Regions from separate parts of the Homo sapiens genome. Here region 1 is linked to region 2. The links are contacts of gene promoters, found by promoter capture Hi-C in human tissues and cell types (Jung and others, 2019). All regions are on one chromosome and are shown on one strand. Each heading gives the region's core, a stretch centred on a gene start or on the middle of the fragment in contact. The rest is flanking DNA. Distances are from core to core; before and after follow the strand shown.

Region 1 (5,403 bases), core at 1,588-4,087, 130 kb before region 2:
GAAAGAAAAAACCACTAAGAAAATACCTCCCTGGGAGGATGAGCTGGGGCCCTTTTTCTTTTGCTGGATGGTTCCTTTATGCAGCTTGGCCCTGTCTACCGAGATGCCCATCTCTTCCTGCCTGCTAGCCTGCTAGACCCTCAAACTGGGTGGGTTCTGTGTCAATAAAAAGCTTCACCCCCTGGCTGAGTGAGGTGGTCCCCTGCAATCACTGTTTGTCCCCTACCCACCCAACCTGTCCCTGCCTGCTCCCAGCCCACTCATCCTTATGTGCTAGGGATAAATCAAGAGTCCTCAGCACTCCACATTCCCAAAAAATCCCAGGAACTCCTAAACCTTCCCCTGTGACAGAAGATGAGGTTGGCAGCTGATCAGACCTCAATAATTTTATACTGTAATAAGCTCTTTGAATGTGTATATTATTATTTTTTACAATCATTTCATTTTGTATTTAATATCAATGGACTGAGTCTGATTCAGAAAATAATTGTAATGTTCATATTCAATATCTTACAGTGATACAGTTTTGTATTTACATATAAATATACCGACATGATCAAAACCCTTTTAGCTTCATCAATTTAGCAGCCTGGGACATGAGGGAGGGGGTCCAGGAGCTGGTCTGGGAGGGATGAGGGAGGCAGGGAGGGACCCAAGCCTTCAGTATCTGAGACTTTGAGTTCTGACACTATGAGTTCACCTTGTCTGTAGGCCATGGCCCTATCTCTGGACAGAGGGACCAGCACCAGTTCAGTGCTTGAGATGTGCTAAGCACTATGCTAGGTGCTTTTCCCCCACCCTGCCTCATTCAAACCTCACAACAATTCAGTGAGATATTATCTTCTCTCCCTTCTCCTGTGCACCCCTTTCTCATTTCTATATAGATGAGGAAGGTGAGGTCCAGAGGGTTACAGTGATTTGCTCTAAAACGAGCTCAAGTTGGTCTGCTTACAAAGCCTGTGGTCTCTTCACTGCATGGAAGATGGAGATCTTGTGTTTGGAGAACAGAGGTTTGTTTAGCTCTCCTTTCAGAGTAAAAAAAGTTCTTAAATTCCAGGTTGTTGTTCTTGTGCCCATGCTTCATGTAGTAGACGCGAAGGGTGACAGGGTTGGTGACTGACTGTCCTAGCTAGGACCTCCTGATGTAGGGTCCTCATGTCTGCAGCGTACCAAAGGGGTTATCATTCTCCCCAGGAGACTCCATATCTATGGGTACATGGTCTTTGTGAGAAGATCTTGAGTCATTTGCATTTATCTCTTAGAAAGAAAGGAACCAGAAGCTTTGTACATGGAAGACCACTCCCCATATCATACCTGTTGGCTGTTGATGGCCTGCCCAGTTGGGGCAGTTGTGGCTGGGAAATATTGGGGTGTTCTTAATAATAGTCATAGCAGCCAATTTACTGGATGCTCACTCTATTCCAGGCACTGTTCAGAGTAATTTCTAGGTATCATCTCATTCACCCTCAACAACCTTTTGAGGTAGGTATTGACAGAAGAAAAAAATTGAGAGACAGGAATGTTAATTTGCTACAGCCAGGATCCCAGACCATCTGACTCCAAAGTATCTTCTTTCACCTCTTACACTAGACTTCCTCTAAGGATCCATCTTCTGATCTGCCAATAAATTTTTATCGAGTTTCTTACCATAATCAGGAGCTCAAGTGTAGAGCAGAAGATTAATCTAGTTCCTTCTCCAGATGAGCCTCCATTCTCTTGGGAGTGCACAAACATAAGAAGTGAACAGAGATTCTTGGAAATCTGAGAAACCAGAGAGGTCAGGGGTTTGGTGGAACATGTAAGAAATGGGATTAATGATAAACGGCCTGGAGGAGGTAACTTTAAATTGTCATTTATTTGAAGAGGCTGTAACCCGACTGCCCTGTGAATTTAAGGTTATGCATGAGTTCCTCATTGCATATCTGAAGACTGGTGAGGTTATCTATCACTTCAGCTCCATAAAATGCTGATTTCTGGGCCCATCCAGTAGGTTGTTAGTGAGTGACAGGATTATCCAGGTTTGGGAACCATAGATTTAGTTCATGTTTCTGACCCTATAGAGAGTTAACAAATTGATGTCTCCTAAATTTTCAGTAAAACTCAGAGGAACTCCTCCCACTGCCATTGTTTGTAGCTTTTACCAGCGTGAACCTACCTGTGTTAGGTGTTAAAGGAGGAGGTAAAGGAAAGGGAAGGCAGAGACGCAACCCAGAATCTGTTTGGCAAGTCAGGGTTCTCATACAGGAGACTTAGTGAACAAAGCAAGAGAAAATGCTCAGGGTCCAAGTGCAGTGGCTTTATGCCTGTAATCCCAGTACTTTGGAAGGCCGAGGTGGGCAGATCACCTGAGGTCAGGAGTTTGAGACCAGCCTGACCAATATGATGAAACCCCATCTCTACTAAAAATATAAAAATTACCCGGGTGTGGTGGTATGTGCTTGTAATCCCAGCTACTCGGGAGGCTGAAATGGGAGAATCACTTGAATCTGGGAGGCAGAGGTTGCAATGAGCCGAGATCGCGCCATTGCACTCTAGCCTGGGCAACAAGAGTAAAACTCCATCTCAAAAAAAATAAATAAATAAAAAAGAAAGACAGTGTTCAGGAAAGAAGAAAACACTGAGCTAAAGCAGGCTTCTGCTTCTGATTTGATGGCTGTTTGTTTCACCTTTCTCTAACATTCCCATGCTATATAATTTTTCAAACATGAGATAATCCCTGTGTCCTTTTTCCCATTGCTCCCTTCATCTTGCCCATCCTCATTGGCTAGGATGGGACTCCTGAGACGAAGGGTGCCCCAGCATCCTCAGCCTCGGAGGCCCACCCTTATCAGTCTTCATGTGACAGTATGCAGGTAAATGACAGAGTAGGACTTGTTCTTGGGAGAATGGACTATTTAGCATCATAGCCCTAGGGAAATTTGGTTCCTTCCCTGAAAGGAATGCTTCCTGTCTCTTGGGACAGACAGACACACATACAAAAACTTTTATAAATCAGAGACCTAGAGGGAATTGGGCCAAGAGGCATTGGCCAAGTAGAAAAGCTTCTCTAGAGTGACCCAGCTCTTTTGTGGTTTTGAGGTCTTACCACTGAACCAAACCCAAGTCCTAGGTTCCCTCTGTAAAAGAAGGGGCTACACTAGATGATCCTACCATGGGTCCTCTGACTGTCAGGGTCCAGTTCTTTGTTAGACAGTGCAAACACCCATAGAGGAGCTATTAGGCCTTTACTTGGGTTGAGTTGGCTCCCACTAGCACTCCCCACTTTTCATTTTTTTTACTTTCAGAGACAGAGTCTCACTCTGTTGCCTAGGTTAGAGGGGAGTGGCATGATCATGGCTCACTGCAGTCTCAACAACTGGGCTCAAGCAGGAACCCAGCTTTTTTTTTTTTTCTCTCTCTCTCTCTAGAGACAGGATCTCACTATGTTGCCCAGGCTGGTCTCGAACTCCAGCCTCAAGCAATCCTCCTGCCTCGGCCTCCCAAAGTGAGAGGATTACAGGCATGGGCCACCACACCCAGCCTCTCCAGTTTTAGTGTGTTTTCAGAGTCTCTTCTTTCAAGCTGCTGCTACTTCCCTAGCTTCCCTCAGTTCTCTTCCCCCTTGGCCTTCCAATTGGAGGAAAAGCAGGTCAGGTCTCTGTCATCTCCAAGACCAGCCTATAGGCCTTTAAAGTTTCCCTGTTTCTTAATGTGGGGTCTACAGGGTTTCTCAGAGGCAAAGCATGAACAGACCAAGGGTCCTATAGCTCCCAACCTAGTCCTTAGATTTCTCTCTGGCCTTGGTTACTCCCACAAACCACTGTGAGCCTACCAAGGGCAGGAATGGAAATGCCCATCAGCCTGGGAACCATCTTTTTCTCTTAGGAGGTATCCGCCCTATAGTTACCTTTACACAACACTTGTGAATATCAAGTGTTCTAGACTGCACTGTTCATAATTGACTACAGAGAAGACTAGGATCTTCTCCACAAATAGAAATATATCACTTTTACTTGGAGATGTTTTCTTGGGGGAAAAAAAATCTAGCACCTTGAAACCTGTTACAATGTTTAAATCTCCCTTCTTTACCTTGGCTGTCATAAAATCCTCCTGTTTGAGCTAAATGTGGCCTGCTGAAGTCTTAAATGCCCATATTTTTCAGGCTAAGGCCATGGTGGACATAGCTAACTCCACTAGAATCCTAGCTGGGGGTGTTGGAAAAAACGGTACAGTGCCCCTCTCAGACTCCAGGCTCACGTCCGTCTCCCCTCCCCGCACATTATAATCTACTACTTCTCTAATGCTGCTGCGTAGTTTGTCTTAAAGCCTCAAGACTGGCCAGATGTGCACCTGAGTAAAGGTCAGCCATTTCATCTGGGGGCTCTTTCTTGACTTTTAATGAATTTTCTTCTGTGAAAAAATGTATTTTTAATAAAAAATTTTCTGTGGCCAGCATCCAGTGGAAGTCTGGAGTCTGATGTGCAGGGCAGATACTGGTCTGGAGATGTCAGTTTAGGACTTAGTTAGACAGAAGCAATGAGCCTTGAAGTGAGAATGAGGAAGGCAAGAGAGGAGATACGTTTGGATGTCACCAACATTTAGGTAATGGGCGGAGGAAGAAAAGCTGCTGAAGGATACTAATGAACAGGCAGAGGTAACTGAGCACAAAGCCAGGCTGCTTTGTCACAGGCTGCTGAGAGGTAGGTAGTGGCTGGGACGAATGAACAAGATCTGAAATGTGGGTTCATTAGAAGTCTTCGAAGGGACTATGTGGCTGTTAGGGAGGCTGCATGAGAGAGATGTGAAGGAATAGACTGCAGTGCCCAGGCTGTCCTCACTTAAACCAAAACAAGGCCCACCTTGATCTCTTACACATTAGGCTTCTGAATAAGATTTTCTTTGAACAAAGGACCTTGCTGGGTGCAGTGGCTCAGGCCTGTAATCCCAGTGCTTTGGGGGGCTAAGGTGGGAGGATCACTTGAGGCCAGGAGTTTCAGACCAACCTGAGCAACATGGCAAAACCCCGTCTCTAAAAAAATAAATAAAAATAATAAATTCTCAAATGGCAAGCTATTCTATTTTTAAAAAGCAGTAACAAAGGAACTCGTTGCTTTAAAAAAAAAAAAAAAAACGTCAGGCCAGGCGCAGTGGCTCACACCTGTAATCCCAGCACCTTGGGAGGCCAAGGCGGGTGGATCACTTGAGGTCGGGAGTTTGAGACCAGCCTGACCAACACAGAGAAACCCCATCTCTCCTAAAAATACAAAATTAGCCGGGTATGGTGGCGCAAGCCTGTAATCCTAGCTACTGGGGAGGTTGAGGCAGAAGAATCGCTTGAACCCAGGAGACGGAGGTTTCGGTGAGCGGAGATCGCGCCATTGCACTCCAGCCTGGGCAAGAAGAGCGAAACTCTGTCTCAAAAAA
Region 2 (5,197 bases), core at 146-2,645:
ACCACACTCGGCTAATTTTGTATTTTTAGTAGAGACAGAGTTTCACTATGTTAGCCAGGCTGGTCTTGAACTCCTGACCTCAAGTGATCCGTCCCCCTCAGCCTCCCAAAGTGCTGGGATTACAGGCGTGAGCCACGGCGCCTGGCCAGTGGCTTGCTATCCTTTAAGTGACACATCAGACCAGCCCTTCTTTTTTTAAAAAATAAAAAAATAAGACAGAGTCTCCCTCTGTTGCCCAGGCTGGAGTGCCATGGCCATGCTGGTCTCGAACTCCTGACCTCAGGTGATCCACCCTCTTCACTCTCCCAAAGTGCTAGGATTACAGGCATGAGCCACCGCACCCAGCCAGAACAGCCTTTCTTGATTATACTTCTTAAAATAGCCCCTCACACAAGGAAATTATGGAGGCCAGTGGATACGTTCATTATCTTGATTGTGGTGATCCAAGAGCCAGGAAGATTTGTTCTCTACTTGTCCAGCCTCATCTTTCCCTAACCTGCAGATGATACTCTCCCAGCTATGGGAAATGCATCCATTCCTGGGGAGCCATACTCTCTCTAACCTGAAGTCTCTGCACATGCTGTTCCCTGTCTGAAGACACACGTCTCCCACCCTTGCCTCCCTACCCCTGGTACACAAACTGTACTTCAGCCAGCCAGCTCCTGCCATCCATCCGCCTTTAAGTTTGATGGCATCCTTAGGAAGCCCCCTTAGCACTACACACAAGGCGCAGTTAGGTCTCTGCCCCTGGAGCCTTAGCTATGACTCCAATTCAAGCCTCCGATTTCCCCTTCCCTTGGCAGCTCAAGTCCTCCCAGTGCCTAGCACACTTCATGGTATAGACCAGGCGCTTAGAACGTACGGATGGATGGATTGGATGGATGGATGGATAAGTCTCAACCCCAAAACTACTACTTTCTGGCTCTGGAAAGAGCGGAGGGGCTTCCTAACAGTGTGGAAGAGTGAGCCTGATTCTAAGCACCTTCTTGTACAAGCCCCACGGCAGGGCTGGGGAAGGGGGTATCCTTGGGAGGTCCTCTTGGGGATGGGGAAGACCTGAAAGGACTCCCAGCTCCAGACAAGCCCTAGTTCCTGCCCCGGGAGGCAGGGGCCCTTCCTTCCGCCAGGGAAGCACCGGGACTCTAAGCCGGCCGGCCTGCTCTGTCTTACCCGCCCCGTACCCCCGCCCCCGTCTCGGGAGCGGGAGAGTGGTGGACTTTTCCCTACCAGACTCACAGCCCTCACGCCCGCACACACTGTGTTTGCGGAGAGGCCAGTACAACCTCCCCCAGTTTCCGGAGCCACTTGGCGCCCCCTCATTCCCGCTCCAGCAGCCCAAGCCTCGCTTCGCCCCTAGTGCCTCACCATCGCGCCAAGAAGCCAGGGCCCGGGAATTTCTTTTTCCGGTCCCGCAGGGTCAGCTGAGTCGACGATCACGTGACTTGGACTAACTGCCTCTGGGAGGGCGGGGCCTGCTCGAGTGAGGCCGGGAGCGGACCGCAGCCCGCTGGAGGTGCAGGGGGCGAAATGCTGGCGTCTCCTCCTCCGTCTCCCAGAATCCTTCCCTGGAAAAAACTGGCGCCAACCGCCAGTTTAACTGAGGACCGAATTAAGACATTAGGAAAGACAGTGGAAGTTATTTCATTTGTTTAACTTAAGGGGGTAGGATCCCGGGAGCCAGGGTGTTTCAGGTCATTGACACGTTTTCCACTGTTAAGCGAATAGCATTATTCACAGCTGCGGGCTGTGGCAAAAGACATTTTAAAAACTATTGACGTCTACTACACATACAGAAAATTGTACCTATTATAAAGCTTAATAAGTTTTCATCAACTGTACACCTCACATAACCAGCACCCAGGTAAGGAAATAAACCAGATAACTTCTTCAAGTGCATGGGTATTTTATTTCATTTTGATGAATCATCTAGGTGCCTAGCAAAAAGGGCTGTCATAATTACTTGCTCAGGAAAACTCCCTACAGCTTCAACATCAATAGATGCTTATCTTAATTTTTGCCAGTCTGATGGGGAAGAAAAATCGGTTGCTTAGGTTGCAGTGGTAGTCTGATTACTGGTAGCTCTGAGCTAATGGGTAGTCTAGAACAACTAAGTTTCCGACATTGACTTGAAGAGGCAAAAACAAAAAGACAAAACAACAAGAAAAATACATTTGAGAATAGACTAATAACCAGAGACAAAATTGAATACAGTCGTCCTTTGGTAACCTCAGGATGTTGGTTCCAGGACCCCAGAGATACCAAAATTCACAGATACTCAAGTCCCTGATATAATATGGCATAGTATTTGCAAATAACCTGTGCACATCCTTCCGTATACTTTAAATCATCTCTAGATTACTATAATACCTAATACAACGTAAATGCTTTGTAAATAGCTGTTATAAAGTTTTTTAATTTTTTTTTTTGAGACGGAGTCTTGCTCTGTTGCCCAGGCTGGAGTGCAGTGGCGCGATCTCCACTCGCTGCCAGCTCTGCCACCCGGGTTCACGCCATTCTCCTGCCTCAGCCTCCCGAGTAGCTGGGACTACAGGCGCCCGCCACTGCACCCGACCTGTGTTTTTTTATTGTTTTACTTTTTCCAAATATTTTCGATGCACAGTTGGTTAAATCCAAGGATCCAGAACCTCAGGATACAGAGGGCTGACTGTAGTTTGAGCTCTCTCCTCAATTCCATGCCTATCCCATGCAACAGGTGCAGCTGGTTTTATTGTTGCAGGCTTTCAGGTTTTTAAAAGACAGAGCCCATGACAATTAAACTGCACTATAAAATAGAAATGTAAAGTGTCCCCAATTCATGGTAAAATTGAGCTCATTTCTGAAGAGTTCTTTTACAAATCATAACCACTAGCCTGTTGAAAACAACAGTACGTTAAGTTACTAGACTATCCTAAACCATGTCAAAAAAATTTTTTAAGAATGTTAAGACCTTTAATCATAGCACTTTGGTAGGCCAAGGCCGGTGGATCGCTTGAGCCCAGGAGTTCTAGACCAGCTTGTGCAACATAGGGAGACCCCAGTCTCTACAAAAAATTACCCGCTTGTCCTGGTGCACACGTGTTGTCCCAGCTACCTAAGAGGCTGAGGTCAGAGGATCTCTTGAGCCTGGGAGGTGGAGGCTGCAGTGAACCATGATGGCACCACTGTACTCCATCCATCCTGAGCAACAGAAGGAGACCATCTCAGAAAAATAAAATAAAATAAAAATAAATAAATAAATAAATAAATAAATAAATAAAGGCTGGGCACGGTGGCTCATGCCTGTAATCCTAGCACTTTGGGAGGCCGAGGCAGGCAGATCACCTGAGGTCAGGAGTTCGAGAGCGGTGGCCTGGCTAACATGGCAAAACCTGTCTCTACTGAAAAAAAACAAAAAAAATTAGCAGGGTGTGGTAGTGGGTGCCTGTAATCCCAGCCAGTCAGGAGGCTGAGGCATGAGAATCGCTTGAACGCGGGAGGTGGAGGCTGCAGTGAGCCGAGATTGCACCGCTGCATTTCAGTCAGCTTGGGCAACAGTGTGAGACTCCGTCTCAAAAAAAAAAAAAAAAAAAAGATGATTTGACTATTTAGAGCCGTGGTTCTCACACATTAGAGTGCATCATCATCACCTGCAGGGCTTGTGAAACCGGCTGCTGGGCCTCACACCAGAGTTTCTAACTCAATAGGACTGAGGTGGGGCCTGAGCATTGCGTGTCTATATTCCCAGGTGACATTTGAGACCATGCTTTGAAAACCACTAGTGTAGGGAAATATACTACAGAATATGTTATGAATATTCTTGAGAATATGTATATATGTTAACTTAGGGTTTCTGTCCAGTGGAAAAGATAACACCCAAAGATGGCAGTTTTATTTCCCAATATGATTTTCTTTTTTTTTTTTGAAATGGAGTCTCGCTCTGTCACCCAGGCTGGAGTGCAGTGGCGCCATCTTGGCTCACTGCAACCTCCACCTCCTGGGTTCACGCCATTCTCCTGCCTTAGCCTCCCGAGCAGCTGGGACCACAGGCGCCCGCCACCACGCCGGGCTAATTTTTTTATATTTTTAGTAGAGACGGGGTTTCACCGTGTTGGCCAGGATGGTCTCAATCTCCTGACCTCGTGATCCGCCCGCCTCGGCCTCCCAAAGTGCTGGGATTACAGGCGTGAGCCACTGCGCTCGGCCCCCCTTTTTTTTTTGAGACGGAATTTAATTCTGCCGCCCAGGCTGGAGTGCAGTGGCACAATCTCAGCTCACTACAACCTCCGCCTCCAGGGTTCAAGCGATTCTCTTGCCTCAGCCTCCTGAGTAGCTGGGACTACAGGTGACCACCACTGCACCTGGCTAATTTTGTATTTTTAGTAGAGACAGGGTTTCAACATGTTGGCCAGGCTGGTCTTGAACTCCTGACCTCAGGTCATCCGCCTGCCTTGACCTCCCAAAGTGCTGGGATTACAGGTGTGAGCCACCATGCCTGACCTCCCTATAGGATATTAACAAGTTTTGTCTCTATCTCAGAATACATTTCAGAATGCCCTTCCTGGAGCATTACAGACACTGTCTCTCAAAAAGCTCCTTGAACTTGCTTCACCATGTTGCTAACTCCCTTGTGAATTAAAGAAAATATCTTATACATATTCCTTCATTATTTGTATGAAAGTCATGCTTTTAACATTGTAAAAATTATTCTTCAGGCTGGGTGCGGTGGCTCATGCCTGTAATCTCAGCACTTCGGAAGGCCAAAGTGGCGGGATCACGTGAGGCCAGAAGTTTGACACCAGCCTGGCCAACATGGTGAAACTCCGTCTCTACTAAAAAAAAAAATCAAAATTAGCTAGGGGGTGCACACACCTGTAGTTCCAGCTACTTAGGAAGCTGAGGCACAAGAATTGCTTGAACCTAGGAGATGGAGGTTGCAGTTAGCTGAGGTCGTGCCACTGCACTCCAGCCAGAGCCAGACCGAGACTCTATCTCAAAGAAAAAAAAAGAAAGAAAATTATACTTCGATACAGTATGCTAATATAAAGGATATAATCTGGTTTGGCTGTGTGTCCCCATCCAGATCTCACCTTGAATTGCAATAATCCCCACGTGTCAAGGGTGGGACCAGGTGGAGATAATTGAATCATGGGGGCGGTTTCTCCCATGCTGTTCTCGTGATGGTGAATGAGTTATCACGAGATCTGATGGTTTTATAACA

Evidence for each region. Contacts are between HindIII fragments. The study calls those that stand out against the background at their distance.
Region 1: a fragment that was not itself captured here is called in contact with the fragment with the promoter of COMMD4 in region 2 in 3 of the 25 tissues and cell types used here (bladder, pancreas and psoas muscle).

Annotation. Positions count from the first base shown.
Region 1 is chr15:75,462,282-75,467,684 of GRCh38, reverse strand. PTPN9 (protein tyrosine phosphatase non-receptor type 9) reads left to right here. Exons shown (of 13, transcript NM_002833.4): 13 at 1-4,434. Among named protein-coding and RNA genes, the nearest start is that of SIN3A, 13 kb to the right of the region's middle. The HindIII fragment of the contact is 4,221 bases long and covers 727-4,947 here.
Region 2 is chr15:75,332,261-75,337,457 of GRCh38, reverse strand. COMMD4 (COMM domain containing 4) reads right to left here and starts at 1,395. Exons shown (of 8, transcript NM_017828.5): 1 at 1,366-1,395. The coding sequence starts at 1,368. RefSeq lists enhancers at 1,002-1,171, 1,512-1,561. The HindIII fragment of the contact is 27,503 bases long and covers 1-5,197 here.